2 separate regions of the Homo sapiens genome follow, and region 2 is linked to region 1. Evidence: promoter capture Hi-C in 16 types of primary human blood cells and fetal thymus (Javierre and others, 2016). All regions are on one chromosome and are shown on one strand. The core of a region is centred on a gene start or on the middle of the fragment in contact, and the rest is flanking DNA. Distances in the headings are between cores, read along the strand shown. Region 1 holds the start of EIF2S3B (eukaryotic translation initiation factor 2 subunit gamma B). Region 2 holds the start of KLRK1-AS1 (KLRK1 antisense RNA 1).

Region 1 (5,083 bases), core at 1,143-3,642:
GAAATCTCCAAACTGGTTTCCACAGTGTCTTAACTAATTTACATTTCCACCAACAGTGTATCAGTGTCCCTTTTCTTGGCAACCTCACCAGCATCTCTTATTCTTTCACATTTTAATCAAAATGCCAAATTTGAATCACCATAGTGACTGGTGAGAGACAGTATCTCATTGTGGTTTTGATTTGCATTTCTCAAAGATCCCTTGATCTGTATGTCTGTTATTATGCCAGTACTACTGTAGCTTTGTAATAGTTTTGAATTCAGGGTGTATGATGCCTTTAACCTTGTTTAACCTTGTTCTTCTTCCTGGAGATTGCTTTGGCTATTCAGTGTCTTTTGTGGTTCTACATGAGTTTAATGAATATTTTTCTATTTTTGTAAAAAAAAGTGCAATTGTGATTTTGAACAGAATTGCCTTGAATCTATAGATGTATTTGATTACATTAAATTTTCATAAAAGCATAAGTAACCAAAGCAAAATTATATAAAGTGGGACTACATCAAACTAAAAATGTTCTGCACAGCAAAGGAAACAGCAGAGTGAAAGGCAACCTATAGATTTGAGAAAACATTGCAAATAACATATCTGTTAAGGTATTAATGTCCAGAATATATAAGGAACCTCTACAACTTAATACCAAAAACAAAAAATAGCCCAATTTTAAAAAATGGATGAAGGACTTGAATAGACATTTCTCCACAAAAGACATGCATGTGGCCAGTGGGTATATAAAAAAATGCTCAACATCACTAATCATTAGGGAAATATTCTAAGATGCTACCTAACACCTGTTAGGATGACTATTTTACATATATATATATATATATATATATATGGATACATTCACATATCCATATATTCATTCATATATACCCAGAAGAAGGAGATGAGCCATCCTCTCACTTTCATTTATTACCCTCTTCCTTAAAACGAATATATCCATATACATATATATGAAGATATATATATATATATATATATATATATATATATATATATATATATGTTGGTAAGAATGTGAAGAAATTGGAACCCTAGCACATTGTTGATAAGAATGCACTATGAAAAAGGTGTATAGAGCTTCCTCAAAAATTAAGAGTAAAACTACCCATATAACCCAATAATATCACTTCTGGGTATACAGTATATCCAAAAGAATTAAAATTAGTATCTTGAAGAGATATCTGCACTCCCACATCAATGGTAGGATTATCAAGAATAAATAATATTTAAACAACCTAAATGTACACTGACAGATGAACAGATAAAGAAAATGTAGTATGTACATATGATGGAATATTCTTCAGCCTTAAAGAAAGAATATTCTGCCATTCATGACAACATGAATGACCCTTGAGGACATTAAGCTAAATAAAATAAGCCAGTCACAGAAGAACAAATGCTTTATGATTATACTATATGAGTTATCTAAAGTAGTCAAATTCATAGGAACAGAGAATGGTGGTTACCAGGGACTCACTTTCAATTGGTTAAGTTTCAGTTACGAAAGACGAATAAGTTCTAGAGATATACTGTACCACATAGTACGTATAGTTAGCAACAATACGTTGATCACTTTAAAATCTGCTAGGAGGGTAGATCTCATGTCAAGTGTCTTACTTGCCCTCTGCTCCCAAAATAAAGGTACTCAAGAAAAACTTTGTAGATGATAAACATGCCTACTATCTTCATTGGGTGATGGTATTACGAATGTATGCATATGTCCAAACTCATCAAATTGTATACGTTAAAAATGCACAGTTTTTTTGTATATAAACTATACCTCAATAAAGCTATTGTAATAAATCTCCAATATAGCATCTATTAATGGTCATCACTCCAACATAATTTGAAGAAATGAAAATTATAATATAAACCACGACATAGCTATTTGTTTCGAACAAAAAATAAATATATTAATAATTAATCTTCTTAAAGAAGAAAAATATTTAGTGTAGAATTATTCAGTGTGTTGCTGGTTTTGTGTCTTCTTAGAAATGTAATAGCAGGCTGTATATACAAGATCCATTTTCATATAAATAGATTACAATGGTCCATTAATTTTTTAAGTATTTATCTGTGGTCAACTGAAAATATATTTTCGACCCGCCTCGCATGGGCCCAGGGGGCGGGGGTTTGGGTGGCTGCCCTCAGTATTGCCTGCACAAATATCTACCAAGTCTGCGACGAATAGCTCCAGCAACTTTGCACCGTGTTTTCCAGTAAGCCTACCGACAGGCACTGTGCAGATTCAAGCAGAGAGAAGTCCAAGCACTGAGGCCGCTGCTGCACCGGCCATCCTGAGACCCTAGTCGACCTTCCGGCCTCCGCATCCCCGCCCCGCACTAGGACCCCTGCAGACGATCAGGCGGCAGCCGGGGTGACTTTCTTCCTCTTTTGGCAACATGGCGGGCGGAGAAGCTGGGGTGACTCTGGGGCAGCCGCACCTTTCGCGTCAGGATCTCACCACCTTGGATGTTACCAAGTTGACGCCACTTTCACACGAAGTTATCAGCAGACAAGCCACAATTAATATAGGTACAATTGGTCATGTAGCTCATGGGAAATCCACAGTCGTCAAAGCTATTTCTGGAGTTCACACCGTCAGGTTCAAAAATGAACTAGAAAGAAATATTACAATCAAGCTTGGATATGCTAATGCTAAGATTTATCAACTTGATGACCCAAGTTGCCCTCGGCCAGAATGTTATCGATCTTGTGGGAGCAGTATGCCTGATGAGTTTCCTACAGACATTCCAGGAACCAAAGGGAACTTCAGATTAGTCAGACATGTTTCCTTTGTTGACTGTCCTGGCCACGATATTTTGATGGCTACTATGCTGAACGGTGCAGCAGTGATGGATGCAGCTCTTCTGTTGATAGCTGGTAATGAATCTTGCCCTCAGCCTCAGACATCTGAACACCTGGCTGCTATAGAGATCATGAAACTGAAGCATATTTTGATTCTACAAAATAAAATTGATTTGGTAAAAGAAAGGCAGGCTAAAGAACAATACGAGCAGATCCTTGCGTTTGTCCAAGGTACAGTAGCAGAGGGAGCTCCCATTATTCCAATTTCGGCTCAGCTGAAATACAATATTGAAGTTGTTTGTGAGTACATAGTAAAGAAAATTCCAGTACCCCCAAGAGACTTTACTTCAGAGCCCCGGCTTATTGTTATTAGATCTTTTGATGTCAACAAACCTGGCTGTGAAGTTGATGACCTTAAGGGAGGTGTAGCTGGTGGTAGTATCCTAAAAGGAGTATTAAAGGTGGGCCAGGAGACAGAAGTAAGACCTGGTATTGTTTCCAAAGATAGTGAAGGAAAACTCATGTGTAAATCAATCTTTTCCAAAATTGTTTCACTTTTTGCGGAGCATAATGATCTGCAATATGCTGCTCCAGGCGGTCTTATTGGAGTTGGAACAAAAATTGACCCCACTTTGTGCCGGGCTGACAGAATGGTGGGGCAAATACTTGGTGCAGTCGGAGCTTTACCTGAGATATTCACAGAATTGGAAATTTCCTATTTCCTGCTTAGACGGCTTCTAGGTGTACGCACTGAAGGAGACAAGAAAGCAGCAAAGGTTCAAAAGCTGTCTAAGAATGAAGTGCTCATGGTGAACATAGGATCCCTGTCGACAGGAGGGAGAGTTAGTGCTGTCAAGGCCGATTTGGGCAAAATTGTTTTGACCAATCCAGTGTGCACAGAGGTAGGAGAAAAAATTGCCCTTAGCCGAAGAGTTGAAAAACACTGGCGTTTAATTGGTTGGGGTCAGATAAGAAGAGGAGTGACAATCAAGCCAACAGTAGATGATGACTGAAGAATACCGGTTAAATAATACATTCGGATGGAGCTGGAAGTTGCAATTTCTCTTTAACAACCAAGGGGTTTATTTTCAAAGCGATATTGGGGAATTGATTTCACAGTTTGTTACCTTAGTAGGTAACGGTAAGGTTATTCTCTCTTTTTTTTTTTGGTTATGAAAACTTAGGGACTACAATTAGTATAAAAATTGGCATAATGTTGGATTGAATCTACATTTTGGCAGAAGTTAAGCATTCCCACATAATGTCAAAATTATACATTATGCAGTTTTTTTGTTTGTTTTATTTTGTTTTGTTTTTGAGTCTGGCTTTGTCACCTAGGCTGGCATGTAGTGGCATGATCTGCAATCTCTGCCTCCCAGGTTCAAGCGATTCTCCTGCCTCAGCCCCCCAAGTAGCTGAGATTACAGGTGTGTGCCACCACACGGGGCTAATTTTTGTATTAGTAGAGACGGGGTTTCGGCATGTTGGCCAGGCCAGTCTCTCCTGACCTCAGGGTGATCAGCCCACCTCGGCCTCACAAAGTGCCGGGATTACAGGCGTGAGCCACCTTGCCTAGCCCACATCATGCAGTTTGAAATGAAACTTTGCCACAACCAGCCTTTGCTGTAGCACACACATATATCACTGAAACTGTTCGAAATAAAGTTTTTTTTTGTTTTTCATGATTCGTCTTTGAGTACCTCCAGGCTGAAGGACTGTTGTACCAGTAAAAACTTAAAGGCACAAATTATCCTTGAAGACCTTCTCCCTTTTCTTTGGCCCCATATTTTATGTTGCTTTATCTTTGAAATTTTGCATGAAAAGGATGCAATGAATGGGTTCGAATTGCATGAAAAGGATGCACGAATGGGTTCGAATGAAATTGTCCTTTAGAGCATGATTACTTGTTCCCATGGGCAAATAATTTTCTCCCCTTGCTCTTCCTGGCCTGAAATACGGGAAACTAGAGTCAGAAGTTATCTCCCTCTCCCTGTGATGCCTTGAGATGTTTTTCTGCATTGTTTTATGCCTGAAATCCAATAGTCTTCCTCCATTGGAAAATACTGTTATACCAAATAATTCTAGATGAGTAACAAAGATCCTTCTAGGCCTTCATTTTATGTTTTTTCTTAACTGTTATATGATTGTGACACAGATTATAATATTACTAATTTTTGGATGTTTCAAAAGGTCAATAAGTAAAAGATGTTAGAAAGCAAAAAAAAAAAAAAAAAAAAAAAAGAAAATATATTTTCTATCATGTTCTTCTGAT
Region 2 (4,987 bases), core at 1,261-3,760, 140 kb before region 1:
GAACAAGCATTTCAAACAATTTGGTGGCAGTCTGTATGGGGATACATTCTCCTCCAGGGGTGGTCTCCAGTCCTCTCTCATGAGGGAGTGCACTCCCCTACCTCATTGAAGGGGCCCTCAGGAATGACAAATTGAGACAAATAAACCCAGACTCTCAGCAACACAGAGAGAAAAAAAAAAAAAAGAAACTGGCCAGCAACCTAGCTTAAAGGATCCTCACATACTGTGGCGACAACTTTGTGCACAGGCCAAGAAAGAAGAAGCTGTGGGAGCCAATAAAGTATTTCCTTGGTGATCGGGACTAAAAAAAAAAAAAAAAAAAAAGCCACAGGACGGTAAAGCATTCCTTAGTTAGGACGTACCAAGGAGAGAGAAACTGCAGGGTCAGTAGATTATTCCTTAGTCGGGATGTCTTGGAGGTTAAAAATAGGTGAGAAATCCCCATAGAAGGGGTGTTGAACCTCAGAAAGAGGTGAGAAATCCCCATGAGGCGGGTTGAACCTCAGAAAGAGGTGAGGAATCCCCATGGGAGGGGGGCGTTGAACCTCACACAAACTCCCAGTAGTAAGAAAAATATTCAGAACCCCCCTTTCCTTTCTTCTTGGGGGAAGAAAGAATAGCCCCACTGCCACCAGTCCCTTCCCTAGGGAAAGGGGAAGGAGGGGGAAAACAGCAGCATAGGTGGCTGGCATGGAACAGGAATTAAAATAAATTACAGAATGTGTAAGCAAAAACTCAGTTGTATATAAGAAAACCCAATTCCCCCCTGAGGAAGAGAAAGAGCCGGAGTCCTTTAAAAATTAACTGCCTGTTTTCTGTGGCTAGTGAGCCTTATCTCTCCCTTTCCCAGGCATTATGAAGACCCTATTTCTCTAGCTGTGCAGCTGCAAGGTCACTAGACAGATAAACTCAAGTCATAAAACATGTTTTTCCTTGAAAAGAAATGATGTCATGTATGTCTCAATTGAATAACTGTCTTTGTTTCTTGCTTCTGTTATACGCTTCCCCCTGCACAAATCTTCCCCCACCCACGAAATGCTTAAAAGGTAACTTGACTCTTTGTTTGGGGCTCAGTCCTTTGGATGTTAATCCAAGTGGACCAGTGCACCTAAATAATAAATATCCTCCTCAATCCCTTGGTCTCTCTGATTCCTTATATATCCCGATACATTTCTGGGGGCTCATCAGGATTGGAGATGACAGATTTACTGTCCCCTTTGCCTGCGATACTAGGTCCCCGGGGCCAGGAGAGACCCGGCATCCAAGGTGTGCCACAGCTGAGCTTCACCCGGATATATAGACCAGCTCTCCCCACGTCCCAGCACCCTGCCTGGCAGCGCAATGGAACCGAGGATGGGGCTGCAGGACGATACCAGCACTTCAGGAACTGTGGTAAGGAGTATAGGCCCAAGGCAGGAAAGCCCGTCCCATAGGGACAAAGGGGAGCTTGATCACCTCCCAGGGACTGACCACTAATCCAACCCAGAGTGGCTGGGGGCAGCAGGAGTGGCCTGCCAATTTGGATGAAGCTTATGTCCCCACTAACAAAGTGAAAGTGGTTCACTGGATCTGGAGACAGGAACTGGGAGTGGTGTGTGTATGTGTGTGAATATGGGAGCCTAACTAGGCTCACCCAGGTCATGAGAGAGGCTCATTCCATCCGATGAGGACTCCTGCAGTAGGAGTGGTGTATGTGTGTGAAAGTGGGAGCCTAACTAGACTCACCCGGGACATGAGAGAGGCTCATTTCGTCCAATGAGGAATCCTGGGGCAAGGAAGGTGTGTGAAAGTGTGTGAAAGCGATGGTCTCGGGAGAGGCCAATGCAGGGAGTGACGTGGGGAGGCACAGATCCCTTAGCACGGGCTGTGTGCTCTGAGGCGAGTGTGGGGGGAAATCAGACCTAGGACATTGCATACAGCTGATAGGACGAGCTTTGCAGCTGTAGCAGGCTGTGACAGGGGAAGACACCTTCCTGGCTAAGCAGTGTCCGAAACTCCTGTAATAGGACCGGGTCTGCTGGACCTGAGAGTGAAAGTGAGAGTGAGAGTGAGAGTGTGCCGCAAGGGAGGAAATGGGAGGGAAAGCGTCAAAACCAACTCCTTTGGAGTGCATGATAAAAATTTTAAAGAAAGGATTTAGAGGTGATTGTGGGATGAAACTGGATGTTCAAAAGTTAAAGACATACTGTGAATTACAATAGCCCTCTTTTAGTGTCAGATGGCTGGCCGAAGGCACTGTAGAGAAATTGGCCGTGTGTTTTAAGGTGGTGACTAGGGTCGGAGGACAGCCAGGGCATTCAGACCTAGTCTTTATATTGACTCATGGCTAAATGTACGCAGCCCTGCCTAGCAGTTTATTGTAGAATGCTCGCAGCTCACGCCGAGATAAACCAACTGTGCTGGCAGCTACGGAGTTAAAGGGAAAGTCACAGAGGCTTCTAGCACCACCGATCCAAAAGTGAAAGTGAAAGTCAGCTGCCCTGGAAGCTATGCAGACCAAAAAAAAAAAAGAGTCTCAGGAAAGAGAAAACCAGTTTTGCAAGAATCACAGGATGGAATAGAGATCCTTCCTACCTATATTCCAATCTATCCCCCCTTACCAAGGCTAATTGCCCCTAAGGAGGTAAGTTCAAACAGATACATGCTCCCACTCTCACCTGAGAAGGAGAAATCGGAGCTCCAGGAAGTTAAAACGAAAGGCTCAAAAAGGTAGGCAGGCCGTCTCAGGTCAAGTCATGCCCAAGTTATGCTTCTGCCTCTTAAGAGGACAAGCAGACCCCCACTAGGACCCAGACGATGCAGTCCAGCTTCAGCACCTACAAAAGTGCCGAGAAGCACTTTTACAAAGGCTAAAGGATGTTAAAAGGAAAAGGCAACCAATATAAAAAAATCTCAGAAGTGCTCCATGGTGCAGATAAAAGCACCAGCCAGTTTTATAGGCATTTTGCTTGTACACTCTGTTTAACCCCGAGGCTGCTGAAAATCAGTGAATAGTAAATACGGCATTTGTAAGGCAGGCCCAAGGAGATATCAGGCATAAATTGCAGAAGTTAGAAGCTCCGTAGGTGTGAATGCTACTCAGCTTATTAAAGTGGCTACCAAGGTGTACATTAACTGAGACCAGGAGGCAAAGAAGAAAGCTGATTGGAGGCTTAATAAAGGCTTATTTACAAGCAGCAGCCCTTATGGGAAGAGAGGCTGGCTTTGCAAGGAGGCATAGATGCGGGTGTGAATGCAGTTGTGGAAAAGGCTAGTCTGGACAGCAATTTGAAAGCCAGCCAAGGCTAGAGAGAGATTAATGTACATGGTGCAAAAGAAAAGGACACTAGAAGGATAAATGTCAAAAGAATAAGGAGAATGGTCAAGGCCATGGTATGAAAAAACCACTGGCCAAGGGCTACTGCACCCAGGAGAAACCCAAGACTGCTGTGAAAGGCAGGATATAAAGGGTCAGAAAAAAGCTCAGATCTGCTCGAAAAGTGTCCAGTACTTAAGCTTTTACATAAGCCAAGAGGAAAGATGGCTTAGTAGTGAACAAAAGCAGGCTGTTTGTGCACTTCCTACTCCAACCACCTGGCGTCGAATAACAGAGTTCCTAAGGGCAGCAAAGTTCTTCCGCATTTAGATCCCAAATTTCTTGCTTGTGGCTAAGCCATTATACAAAGCCACAAAGAGGAGGAAAGAAGGACTCCTCCTCTAGGAGGCCAACCAGAAGAAGGCTTTTCAAAAAATCAAAGAAGCCTTGACTCAGATCCCAGCTTTAGGACTGCCAGATCTAACTAACTAAGCTTATCTTCTTGAATGTCCACAAGTGAAAGGGAGGCCATAAAGATTCTAACTCAAGCCATAAGGTCATGGCATTGCCCAGTGACACACTTATCCAGGCAGTTAGATTCTGTGGCACTTGGATGGCCTCCTTGTTTTAAAGCACTAGCTGCTACTGCCCTACTGGCACAAGAAGCTAATAAACTGACTTTAGAGATGGTGAATACCCTAAACCCGGCTACCTTGCTCCTCATCGAGTCAGTGCCAGGAGACCCCCTTCGTTGCTGTGTAAATGTGATAGATGAAGTGTTCTTAAGCCAGAGAGATTTGACAGATACATCCCTCAGGGACCTGGACATTGAATATTTTACTAATGGAAGCAGTTTCATACTAAACGGAGTCCGCCAAGCTGGGTATGCAGTGGTGACTTTGGATTCAGTAGTAGAGGTGCAGTCTTTGCCTACAAAAACTTCTGCTTAGAAAGCAGAACTAATAGCTCTGACAAGAGCTCTCTGGCTAGCCAAAGACCAAAAGACAAATATTTACACATATTCCAGATATGTTTCTGCCACTTTGCATGTTCATGAGACTATTTACAAAGAAAAAATAATTTTAACTGCTGAAAGTAAAGAAATAAAGTATAAGGAAGAAATTCTAGAGCTCTTAAATGCTGTATAGGCCCCAAAAGGTGGCAGTGATGTACTGCAAGGGGCACCAAAAAGGAAGAATACTAAAGGCTAAAAAAATAAAATAAAATAAGAAAACAGACAAAGAGGCAAAGCAGGCTGCAATGACAACTCCACCTTTTAAAGAGGAAGCCTTAGCTATGCCTCTCCTCCCAGAGATTCCTCTCCTGGATATCCCAAGCTACACTCCAAATGAAAGGGCTTATTTTGCCCAGAAAAATAAAAACTACATTAAAAGGAGATGGTAAATATTATCCAATGGGAGGCTAGCCATACCTGAAATGGTGGCCCCCAGATTTTTAAAAGAGTTCCACCAAGGAACTCACATGGAAAAAAATACAACAACAGAAATGAGGAATGCTATATATCAAAATAGATTGGCTTTAGATTACCTCTTAGCCTCAGGAGGAGGAGTATGTGGAAAATTTAATTTAACCAACTGTTGCCTAGAAATCGATGATAATGGTTGAGCTGTCATGGAAATCACCGCTAGAATGCACACATTGGCCCATATTCCAGTTCAGACTTGGTCTGGG

Evidence for each region. The method cuts DNA at HindIII sites, captures the fragments that hold promoters and counts their contacts. A CHiCAGO score of 5 or more calls a contact.
Region 2: a fragment that was not itself captured here is called in contact with the fragment with the promoter of EIF2S3B in region 1 in 1 of 17 cell types (total CD8 T cells); the score reaches 6.0 in total CD8 T cells.

Annotation. Positions count from the first base shown.
Region 1 is chr12:10,503,498-10,508,580 of GRCh38, forward strand. EIF2S3B (eukaryotic translation initiation factor 2 subunit gamma B) reads left to right here and starts at 2,393. Exons shown (of 1, transcript NM_001357734.3): 1 at 2,393-5,028. The coding sequence starts at 2,406. The coding sequence ends at 3,824. The region is part of intron 3 of LOC105369657 (a long non-coding RNA gene); the gene reads right to left. The HindIII fragment of the contact is 5,298 bases long and covers 1-2,643 here.
Region 2 is chr12:10,362,642-10,367,628 of GRCh38, forward strand. KLRK1-AS1 (KLRK1 antisense RNA 1) reads left to right here and starts at 1,128. Exons shown (of 4, transcript NR_120430.1): 1 at 1,128-1,392. RefSeq lists enhancers at 1,599-1,648, 2,109-2,178. The HindIII fragment of the contact is 1,966 bases long and covers 1,528-3,493 here.